2 separate regions of the Homo sapiens genome follow, and region 1 is linked to region 2. Evidence: promoter capture Hi-C in 16 types of primary human blood cells and fetal thymus (Javierre and others, 2016). All regions are on one chromosome and are shown on one strand. Each heading gives the region's core, a stretch centred on a gene start or on the middle of the fragment in contact. The rest is flanking DNA. Distances are from core to core; before and after follow the strand shown.

The links. The method cuts DNA at HindIII sites, captures the fragments that hold promoters and counts their contacts. A CHiCAGO score of 5 or more calls a contact.
Region 1: a fragment that was not itself captured here is called in contact with the fragment with the promoter of USO1 in region 2 in 1 of 17 cell types (naive B cells); the score reaches 5.1 in naive B cells.

Annotation. Positions count from the first base shown.
Region 1 is chr4:76,060,233-76,065,694 of GRCh38, reverse strand. It overlaps a transcript of ART3 not described here. Among named protein-coding and RNA genes, the nearest start is that of ART3, 12 kb to the left of the region's middle. The HindIII fragment of the contact is 935 bases long and covers 2,516-3,450 here.
Region 2 is chr4:75,721,562-75,727,087 of GRCh38, reverse strand. USO1 (USO1 vesicle transport factor) reads right to left here and starts at 2,511. Exons shown (of 24, transcript NM_003715.4): 1 at 2,203-2,511. The coding sequence starts at 2,268. It also overlaps a transcript of G3BP2 not described here. RefSeq lists silencers at 2,043-2,220, 2,555-2,724 and enhancers at 2,305-2,384, 1,481-2,400, 2,401-3,321. The HindIII fragment of the contact is 5,085 bases long and covers 1-4,010 here.

The DNA.
Region 1 (5,462 bases), core at 1,734-4,233, 340 kb before region 2:
TATTGGTAGATTTTAGGCCTCTAGGCTTTAATTCTCAACTTTCTTTCCCCCTATTTCAGTGAGAGAGACACATTCTTATCAAGGACAAGGAGTCTCTATGGTAATGATTTCAACGAGTGTGTGTGTGTGTGTGTGTGTGTGTTGGAGGGTTATATCAGAGTGTGGGAGGTTCAGGAGGTCCTTGAATAAGGCCATTTCATTATACCATTAATGAGAAAAAAACCTGATTCTCAGCCAGGACTACTGTCTATGTGGAGTTTGTACATTCTCCCCATGTCTGTGTGGGTTTCTCCAGGGACTCTGGTTTCCTCCCACATCCCAAAGATCGGCATGTTAAGTGAACAGGTTTGGAAATGAATGAATGAACACCAATTATTGTATAATAAAAATTCCAAAAGTATACAATAATAATACAAATGCACAAGATTAAATGATTCAGTACAAAAGCACTCAGTGAGCTCGCCATATTTGTAATTGTTTGTTTTTGAACTTTGTGGTGTTAAGAAGTGCACCTCACAATTTTTGCTTTGCAAACACTTCCTCCTTGATTGAACTCACCACCACTATGGCTACCATTACTCACGCCTGTGATCCCAGCACTTTGGGAGGCCAAGGTGGGCAGATCACTTGAGCTCAGGAGTTCGAGACCAGCCTGGCCAACATGGTGAAACCTCGTCTCTACTAAAAATACAAAAATTAGCCAGGCATGGTGGCAGGTGCCTGTAATCCCAGCTACTCAGGACGCTGAGGCAGGAGAATCGCTTGAACCTGGAAGGTGGAGGTTGCTGTGACCCATGATCTTGCCACCGCACTCCAGCCTGGGTGACAGAGTGAGACCCTGTCTCAAAAAAAAAAAAAAATTTACTCAATATTCCAACTCCCATCTTTCTACCAACACTGATAATTGAAGCAATATTGTTAGTATATTTTAAAGCATCCACTTTCAATATTCTCTTTTTGGTACTCATTTTGTAATAAGAGGACGTTAGCACTGTTACCCTTCCCTTCACCTCCTTTCTGCCTTTCACCTCCCAGCTTCCATCAGTAGTTCTTTTATCTTTATGTTGTCAAAATGTAATAACATTTGCTTTTTGTTCTGTAGCCATGCTTTAAGTAAAGGTCTATTCTAAAATTAAAAATCAAAAGTATAGTTTACTGCAAGTTTATTGCAACCAGCTATATATTCTTTAGTATAAAGACAAGACACAAGTTAGGATTTTATTTCCATCTCTGCTGTTTCAATGTCATGATCACTATTCACACTCAAAACAAAACATTTTTATGTCAAGATCAAATGAATATTCCTTTCCCATACTCCACTAATCCCTTAAAATCATGCCTCACTTTTGTCTCTTTTGTATTTAGATCACTAAAATTTTTTATTTTTCCTTTAGTTTCTGAGTGCCTTTTTTGGTGGTGATGGTAGTGGTGATCATGGTGGTTGTTGGGAAAAGTAGTATTTGTCTCCATCGTGTACCTAATGTGCTTCTATTTCCAATTCTATTGCTTGGAATCCATTTTGTTCTTATTCTTGAAGACCAGTTCTAACCTGGACAAACTGCTCTCCAGGCCAACAACTAGGAGACTAGAAAATCTTTCAATTGAATCCCTGGGTACTTTTTCCATTTCTTGTACTCTACAGTGGTTTTATTTTTTTAATTTATTTTTTGTCTCATGCTACTGCATCTACAGCTTTTTGCTTCATATTTATCTTTGTTTTGTAGGAATATATTCTGAAATTATTTCCTTAAAAAGGATGCATGGAAGATAAACATTTTCAGTGCTTTCATTTTTGAAATGTGAATCTGATGAACAGTTGGCTAGTATATAATTCTAGGTTCAAAATAATTTTTCCTCAGAACTTTGTATAATACATGAAACTCTAAAAGATTTGTATAAATTCAATGTTTAGTGCCAAAATTATTCTATTTTTCACTATCATTGTTTTAAACTAATTTTCAAGTGCAGGCTTTATATTACTTTTAGCTTTCTTGTTTTTATGTTCTCCGAGTCTCTGTCAAATAATGATATATAAATACATGACTACTTAAATACCTATTGGGAAATTCTCATCAAAGGAATATATATGGCACAACCGGAGAGACCTTATTGTAAGTCCATTTTCTAATTTTTTCAACAAAATTCAGGATTTTTTCCTAGTTTCTTTTTGTGAATCTTGTCTTCCTAACTACAGATTATAAGCTTCTTTTAATCTCATTTTAAACTCCTCATTTCTCTCCCCATTACTCCCAGCTTAAAATGGTATAAGGTACAGAGAATATATTCAAGACCTAGTTAAGAGAGATTTGGTCAGCAATGCTTTTAACTCTTCCTGAATTATGTCTTGAATCTAGTATATGCTTATTTATAATTGTAACAAGTTTTTGCAATGACTCATTCCTTCATTACATTTAATCTACAAATGTTTACTGAGCACCTACTATAGGCCAAGCACTATTCTAGGTGTTGGGATGTTGTCAGTGAACAAAATAAAAATCCCTGCCTCCAGGAAGCTTCCGTCCATGAAGTAGTAGAGAAAAAGAAGGCAGGCAATAAACAATGAAAATAATAAATTAGTAATTACGCAGTGAAAGAGATAAAGAATGAAGAAGTGTGAAGTGTGGGGAGTTGGGGCACACTATAGTATTAAATAGAGTGGTCAAGGTAGGCCTCACTGAGAGAGTGAAATTTAGCAAAAACCTGAAGGAGGTAAGGGACTTAAACAAGTGATTAGCTGTAGGAAAGCATTCCTTACAGAGAGAATAGCTAGAAGTGTATTGTTCAATGGCCACTAGCCACCACATGTAGCTACTGAGCATTTGAAATGTGACTTGGGGCCGGGCTCGGTGGCTCACACTTGTAATCCCAGCACTTTGGGAGGCTGAGGTGGGCGGATCACGAGGTCAGGAGATCAAGACCATCCTGGCTAACACAATGAAACCCCATCTCTACTAAAAATACAAAAAATTAGCCAGGCATGGTGGCAGGCACCTGTAGTCCCAGCTACTCGGGAGGCTGAGGCAGAAGAATGGCGTGAACCCGAGAGGCGGAGCTTGCCGTGAGCCGAGATCCCACCACTGCACTCCAGTCTGGGCAACAGAGCGAGACTCTGTCTCAAAAAAAAAAAAAAAAAAAGATTTATTTTTCTTTCACATAAGGATGAGATGCTCTGAGATGTTTAAATCTCTGCAAAATGGTGGATCATTTTTAAATGCTTAGCAATAACGATAATTTATAACAACTAATAGCTAGCCTTTATTAACTACTTAATTACACACAAGGCACTGTATATTTTATATTGACTAAACTGTATAGTTCTCATAATAAACCTAAAAAAATAGTTATTAACTTTTTTCCCAAGGTTGGAAACCCCCATGAAGTAACAATCATTAGAACATAAGTCAAATTTAAAAGAAAACTAAAGATACTTAATGCTTTTTAATGTAAGCTTACTCTCTCTGGAACAGGATATCTTAGCTTTTAAAAAATAGGAAGCAAAACTAAAAGGGGTAATCCCTCTTGCAGATAAGAACAGTGGATGATTACATGAGTAGGTCTGGTAGCTTTCTTATACGAGACCATCATCCATAATGACTTTCTCTTCTGAAGTAACTCTTTAGTGAGTTCCTGTCTATTCCTACTCCAAATACCAAACTCAAATGCTCTCTTCTTAGCATTTACATAAAACTAACAAAAGGCTACCCTCAAACTATTCCAGAAACATTGCCATCTAAAATTGTCCTTTAGGGAAAGGGACTCTAGAAATTCGTGTAAAAATCCACTTCAGTGGTTCACAATTCTTATTCTTTGGCATTCTTCTCATTTACTCTTTAAACCAACATTTACTGAGCCCCTAACTAAAGTGACAATTCAGTTGAAGACTAAAGAAGTAGGAGTTAGGGAAACAAAGAAAGGAGGGCCTTCCAGTCAGATAAAAAAGTATGTACAAGGCACTGATGGCATACATAGCACATGTTCAAGAAAATGCAAGCCATTTAATACAGCTGGACAGCATGATATGTTTTATGGAACACAAAGAGTTAAAAAGTTGGGGAGGAAAGAGGAATCAGATCATAAAGAGCGCCTTGTGTGTAATGCTTAGAAATTGGAACTTGACTGAAATGGCAATGGGAAACCATGAAGTAGAGGAGAAACATAATCTGATTGAAAAGGTCACTTTCATAGAACAGAAGAATAAATTACCAAGACATTTTAACAAGAGGCAGGAAGATGTGTTGGGAGATTACCTGAGAAATCCAAGTGAGAAGTGGTGGGAGCTTGACCTAAATCAGTGGTAATAAACCCCAAATCAAAATGATTTGGTATCAATTATATAGCATAGGGATGTGTAGAGAAATAGTGTATTTTGAGAAAAGGAGTTTAAACTGACCCCCAGATTTCTGGCTAAGGAGTCTGAATGGTTAGGAGCAACATCAAGATAAAAAATATGAGCAGGTTTTAGGGAAAAGAGTTTTATCTCAATGTAATGAGTTTGAGGTTCCAGCCAGATACTGTAGAGAAGCTATCCAATAGGCAACTGACTAGTTCAGAGAAAGATCTGAGATAGTCATTTAAATTTGAGAGTCATTAGCTGCAATAGTTTGTTACTGTTGCTGTGCAAACTATCATGACTTAGTGGCTTAAAATAATACACATTTCTTATCTTAAAGTTCCTAGATCAGAAGCCTAACATAGATCTCTGTAGGCTAAAATCAAAGTGTTGGCAGGGCTAAGTTACTTTCTGAGAGTCTAAAAGAGAATCAATTTCTTTGCTCATTCGGGTTGTTAGCAGAATGCAGTTTCTTGAAGACTTAAGATTGAGACCTGTGTTTCCTTGTTGACTGTCAGCTGAGGGCTATTCACAGACTCCAGAGGCCACCCACATTCCTTGGTTTGTGGTCCACTTTCTCCATCTTCAAAGCCAATAACAGCAAGTGGAATCTCTCATAATCAAATACCTCCTGCCTCTTCCACTGCATCTCTCTAACTGACTGCTCTGTCTTCCTCTTCCTCTTTTAAGTGCCCATGTTATTACAGTGGGTCCACCCAATGTATATATGTATTTTGAGGTCCATAATATAAGTCCAGTGTTCCTTTTGCCATGTAATATAACATATTCACAGATTCCAGGAATTAGGGCATGGAAATCTTTGGGGAATAATTATTCTGCCTACCATGTTAGCCAATAGGTGTGTAGGCTTGCAGATAGAGAGCATAATACCCTAGAGAACACTAGCATTTAGGTGCAGAGAGAGACAAGATTTCAAGAAGGAGATTGAGAAGGAGAATAAGAAGCCTCAAGAAAAGAGATTTTCATGAGAGAGAAAACAGTTGATTGTCACAGCCAAAATAAATCAAACTGATATGAAATAAGGGTTCTTTGGGCTTGGTTATATATTACCAATGTACTTATGATATCAGTAACTTAATCAGTAACTTATGATTCCACAATATTCTACAAC
Region 2 (5,526 bases), core at 1,262-3,761:
GGAAAGGGTATTCTTCGTTCAACCCACACATAGTAAAAATTACCTCTCATTATACATCTACTAAGTGCCAGGCTCTTTCTACTTATTTCACTTAATCTTCATTACATCCTAAAAAGCAGGCATTTTCCTCATTTTACTTAGAGGGTATTAGCTATCTCTTACATATCCAATCCAATCAGGGGTGGAAAGCCAGGATTCAAATCAAAGTCTAACTCCACAAAGCAAGCTGTAATAAACCATATTTCATAACCTGGTGCCACAAACACAAATATCAGACAAAAAAGTGGTGGGCTGTGATTATGGTATGACTCTGGTAATCTAGACAGAACATGATCTTCTAGTAGGGTAGCTCAGGCTGCCTTGTTGCCAAGTGGGAATGGATGAGTGAAGCCAAATGTGTGCGTGTGTTACAGTGAGAGACAGAAAAGTGATTTTCAAATGAAAGAAACAGATTTACCGGCTTTCATCTTATGCTTTAAACAATTCTAACCAGACCTGCGCAGTTATTTTTTTTTTTTTTGAGATGGAGTCTCTTCATGCTGCCCAGGCTAGTCTCAAACTCCTGGGCTCAAGCGATCCTCCTGGCTTAGCATCCCCTTAGCTGGGATTATAGGCCTGTGTCACTGCGACTAGCTGCAGTTAATTTTAGTAATACTATATAAAGTTCCCAAAAAGTATTGAAATACAGGCATGAGCAATAAAGTGAAGGCTTTGAAGTAAGGTACCTCTTGGTTGAATCCTGGCTCTATTATTAGCAGTGTGACATTGGTCAAGTTACTTCACCCCTTTTTTTTTTTTTTTTTTTTGAGACAGAGTTTCGCTCTTGTTGCCCAGGCTAGAGTGCAATGGCACGATCTCTGCTCACCGTAACCTCCGCCTCCCGAGTTCAAGCGATTCTCCTGCCTCAGCCTTCCGAGTGGCTGGGATTACAGGCATGTGCCACCACGGCCGGCTAATTCTGTATTTTTAGTAGAGACGGGGTTTCTCCATGTTGGTCAGGCTGGTCTCGAACTCCCGACCTCAGGTGATCCGCCGGCCTCAGCCTCCCAAAGTGCTGGGATTAGAGGCGTGAGCCACCGCGTCCGGCCTACTTCACCCCTCTCAGTCTCATTTTTTGACTTTTAAGGTGAGAATACTCTCACCTATCTTGCAGGGTAGTTAACGATTAAAGCATAATGTGGAATATAAAGAGCTCAGCACAGAACCTAGCACAAGGTAAGAGCCTGACAAATGAAAGCTACTATATTATCCCTCAGGATCCCATTAACAAAGTTAGCCATTAAAGTGTTATACTTAGTCTCTTTTATGTAGATCTAAAATTCTTCTCAAATAAAAAGTTTATTTCAAAAAGGCATACACCCTCGATTCCATTAAACACTAACCAAACTTCAAAATAAGTGTATTCTAAACCTAGAATCTAAGCAACTATTAAATAATGTTTTCAGCGGCTAACCATTTTTTTTTTTTTTTAAATAACGCCGCAAATCATGTCATTAGGAGTTCAGGCAGAAAGCGGTGGACGTGTCCCCAAAGCAGTTTGAGCGCTTAAGATCCCTACTACGTTCAAGGTAGCATTTGCCAAATGATATATATTTGGGTGAGCCCGAAAAGCCGGATCTGAACAAATAACACCAGGCAGAACGACCGCTCTTCCAGTTGATGGGACAGGAGCAGGTGGATTTGTCCTTCAAAGAATATCGTTTTATTCTTAGCCAAATGCTCTCACCAACAGCTGGGTTTTAAACCTTCTCGCAGTTTTCCCCAACGCCCCAGTTTCAGACTGCGAGGGAGGGAGCAGGACTTCAGGCTCCTCTCGGCCAGTGCAGACGAGCGAAAGAGAAAGAGGGAGGGGCCCACGGCCCCGAGGGGCGTGGGAGGCAGTTCGGGCCAGCTCGGCCGCGCATCCGTCCCTTCCCGTGCGGTACCACCTGCGGACCACTCTCCTAGCCCGAGCTTCAGGGCCTACAGAGCTGCGGGGCGCGGCCGCCGTCAGTCCGGCCGAACGGCAGCAATGGGGACTGAGCTGGGGGCGTGATTGAATAACTCTGGGATTTCAGGAGCGGAAGGAGGGCAAAGGGGGAGGCGGCATGTGGATGCCCCCTCCATGGTGGGACGCTGGAGGTGACCTTCGGGTCTCCGAGTGCTCCGTCCCCGTCCCTGCCCGGACCCCTTCCCAAGTCCCAGACCCGCTGCTCCTCTCACCGTCTCGGCTTCTGTGTGCTGGGGTCCGGCACTCTGACCCCCCATTACCCCGCGGAGGAAATTCATCTTGCCGTTCAGCCACCAGGTTTACCGGCCCCTCCGGAAAAAAAAGAAGACAACTTCCCCCGCCCTCCGCAGGGCCTGGGCCCCAATCCCGCACTCTACACACTCCTACTGCTGCCACCACCGCCTCCAACTCGGCGGCCACTCCAGCCCTCTAAGCCCGGAAACAGCCGCCAGCAGCGGCCAAGATGCGCATGCGCGGGGACGTGGCATTACGTGGCGGCTCGAAGGTTGAAGGCAAAAGGGGAGCGGAGGCGAGAGGAACCTCTTAGCTAGGTTCCGCCGAAGCCCCACCCACTGCGCAGACCCCGCCTCCCACCGCAGGGGCACGCCTCCTACCCCCACCCTTCGCGGATTGATCCTGCTGGCCGCAGCCACCCACGTGGTGGAAGCCCGGCCCTGCAGGCTGGAGAGGATTTGATTAGACTACGCGTTTCGACTTGCAGGGTGTTTAATCGTCGCCAAGCGGGACTTACTGCAAGCTATCAAATCTGAGGTCTTATTTTGTTGAGTCGAAAGTGAAATTTTCCTTTGGCCAACGTGACAGGTAAGGCTTCCTGGCGCCTGAGAGGGTTCGCTTGGTTTGACGGTTTACTGGTACCAGCATTGTGGCTTTCTGATCCCGGTAAATTGCATTTCTTTACAGGGCTTTGTTTGGTGGTAAAAAGGGTTACTAGACACCCCTCATTCCACTGCCACTGGAGGGCGCATTTCTCAGCTCTTGCTCTTCAAACCTGCTGAAAGGAATTCCTAGATCTAAACACCAGGTACACCTCTATTTTCAAGTGTCGTCAGGAGGAAACCCATCAAACCCTACATTTAGCTTACTAGAGAAATACATTGTTCTGCTGTGTCAGTTTGGCGAGTAACATAATGTTTCGTTATTAACTCTCAACCCCTGTGTTTTCAGTTTTTTTTTTTTTAACATGAAAAATTGTCATTTTCTCTAATTGGTATGCCTGTTCCTTTGGCAGTGAGGTTGTCAGTACACATGCTTCTGGAATAGTCTTGTAAATTTCTTGAGGCTAAAAAGCACAGGTCTAGTTAGCTAACTGACTCATGCACCTCTCCCCTTGGATTCCCCACAGGTCTCAGATTCAGCATTTAAAATTGAACTCGTCATCTTTCCCTGCCTCCCTTAAAGAAAAAAAGTCAATATGCTGCTTCTACTGTGTGCGTGCCGTGCTCAGTAGTACCACTGTCCAAATAATTGCCTAAGCTAGACAGAGGAAGCTGGGAAGAATCTTAGACTCTGGCTTTCCACCCACACATGTCCAATCAATAGTCATGTCCTATCATTTCTATTTATAGAATATTTCTCAAATAGGTGTTCTGCTCTCCATCCTCTGTGCCTGTGACATAGATTATGTTCTTCTCATCATTTCTCATTGAGATGACAGCAACAGCCTCCTAATTAGTTTGTCTGCATTCAGCCCTGGCTTCCTTCCAGTCCAATCTCCAGTCCATCCTTGGGTGAGACTAACAACAACAAAACATCTGTTCATGTCATTCCTCTTAAAATCCTCCAGTTGTTCCCCATTCTGTCCAGAATAAAGTGCAAACTCCTTAGTTTGTCATACAGGCCTGTTATGATTTAGCTCCTGCCTACTTTTTCAGCTCCTGCCTCCCCCACATACTCTGGGCATTTTTCTCAGACCTGGATATGCCCTTCCCTTCCTTTCTCTTCATCAAGCAAACTCCTGCTAATTCCTTAAGGCTCAACTCTGACATCATTCTTGAAAGCTTTCCCTAAAATGTAGGTACACATCTATATGTTAGCACTTTGCAGTTATTGATACTGTATATGGTGTACATTGAATAAATGCTTGCTAAACCAAACTGTTAAGGGCAGGACTATGTTATTCATTTTATATCTCTGTTGCTTACCACTGTCTCATAAAAGGTGATATTGATGGATAAATGAATAAATTATTGAAAGAATATATGAATATTATACTAAGAGGAGGTTCCCTTTTTTTAATCTGTAAAGTGAAATTGTAGGGAAGACATCATAAGCTATGTGTTTCCTAGTGCCAACATTTTAAGCCTGGGCAACTTGGAGAATGGTGGGGTCATACTGCCAAAAATACTGTGCGCTAAGCATTGTCCTCTGCTTTAAAGCTATACACTTGACATTTTACCGTAGACATTTTCCATGGGAGCATTTTGTTGCAGCCTAAAAAAAGTAACCAGTAAATTACTCAGCATTTTTGTTACTAAGAAATGCATGCAAAGAACTTCACTTAAGCCCCTAAGCCTCACCCCTCCCTGAACCTCACTTCACCTTGTCCCTGAAACTCACTCTACCCCATCATCAGGAATGAGGCTCATAGACGGAGTGGGCCACAAATGTCTATTACTCCTCTTATTTAATAATTAAAAAGAGTGCCTTGACATTTTAGCAAAGTTGTTTAAAGGCACCAGCCTTGTCAAATGTCCTGTTTTGTTTTAAACTTTGGTGGGTACAGTAGGTTACTGTACTTCAGTGAGTAAAGTAGGTTACTATACTTTCGTGAGTGTAGTAGTAACAGCTTACTATGAATTTTCCCTGCATTTGACCTGTTTTCTTCCCCAGCAGCATCCCCTGCACAGGAGTGATGGACAGTTGGGTGCAAAGGTGATGAAGGTGGGATCCCCGAGGCATTGTCACTACAGAACAACCATGAAATAGACTCCTTATTTCAGAGGAAGAGTTACATATTAATCCACTTCTACTGATTTTGTAGAGGGAGAAAAGTCAGGGACTGTGTTGTATTCCTGTTTGCATCCTTTAATCATCTAGTATAATTCCTTTAATATGGTAGATGCTCAGGAACTACCTGAGTTAATAAAGGAAGAGAAAACTTGAACAAATTGTGACGGCCTGACTTGCACTGTTAATACTTCTGGCTTTCATAAATCTAAGCATTCAGGATAAGAGTCCTATGAATCATTAAAATACATATAATCAAAATTAAGAGTGATCTTTTTCTAAACCAAACCTGACAATAGATCAACGAACAAAATTCATTGGTTTGAAATTCATTTTTTCAAATTGCTTTTTTCAGTGGCCCACTTAACTTTCTAGTGGAAAACTCGCAAAAACAACGAAATATAATTGCATAAGATTGTTTTTTAGTTGGGGTGGTAGTAAGGTGGAATGTTGTCTATGCCTGCTTGGGAGGATAAATATAAATGATCATTTGTATTTGAAATCTATCATATATAGGTTTTTATTTATTTATTATTTTGGTAGGTTATAAGCCCCTTCAGTATCGTATA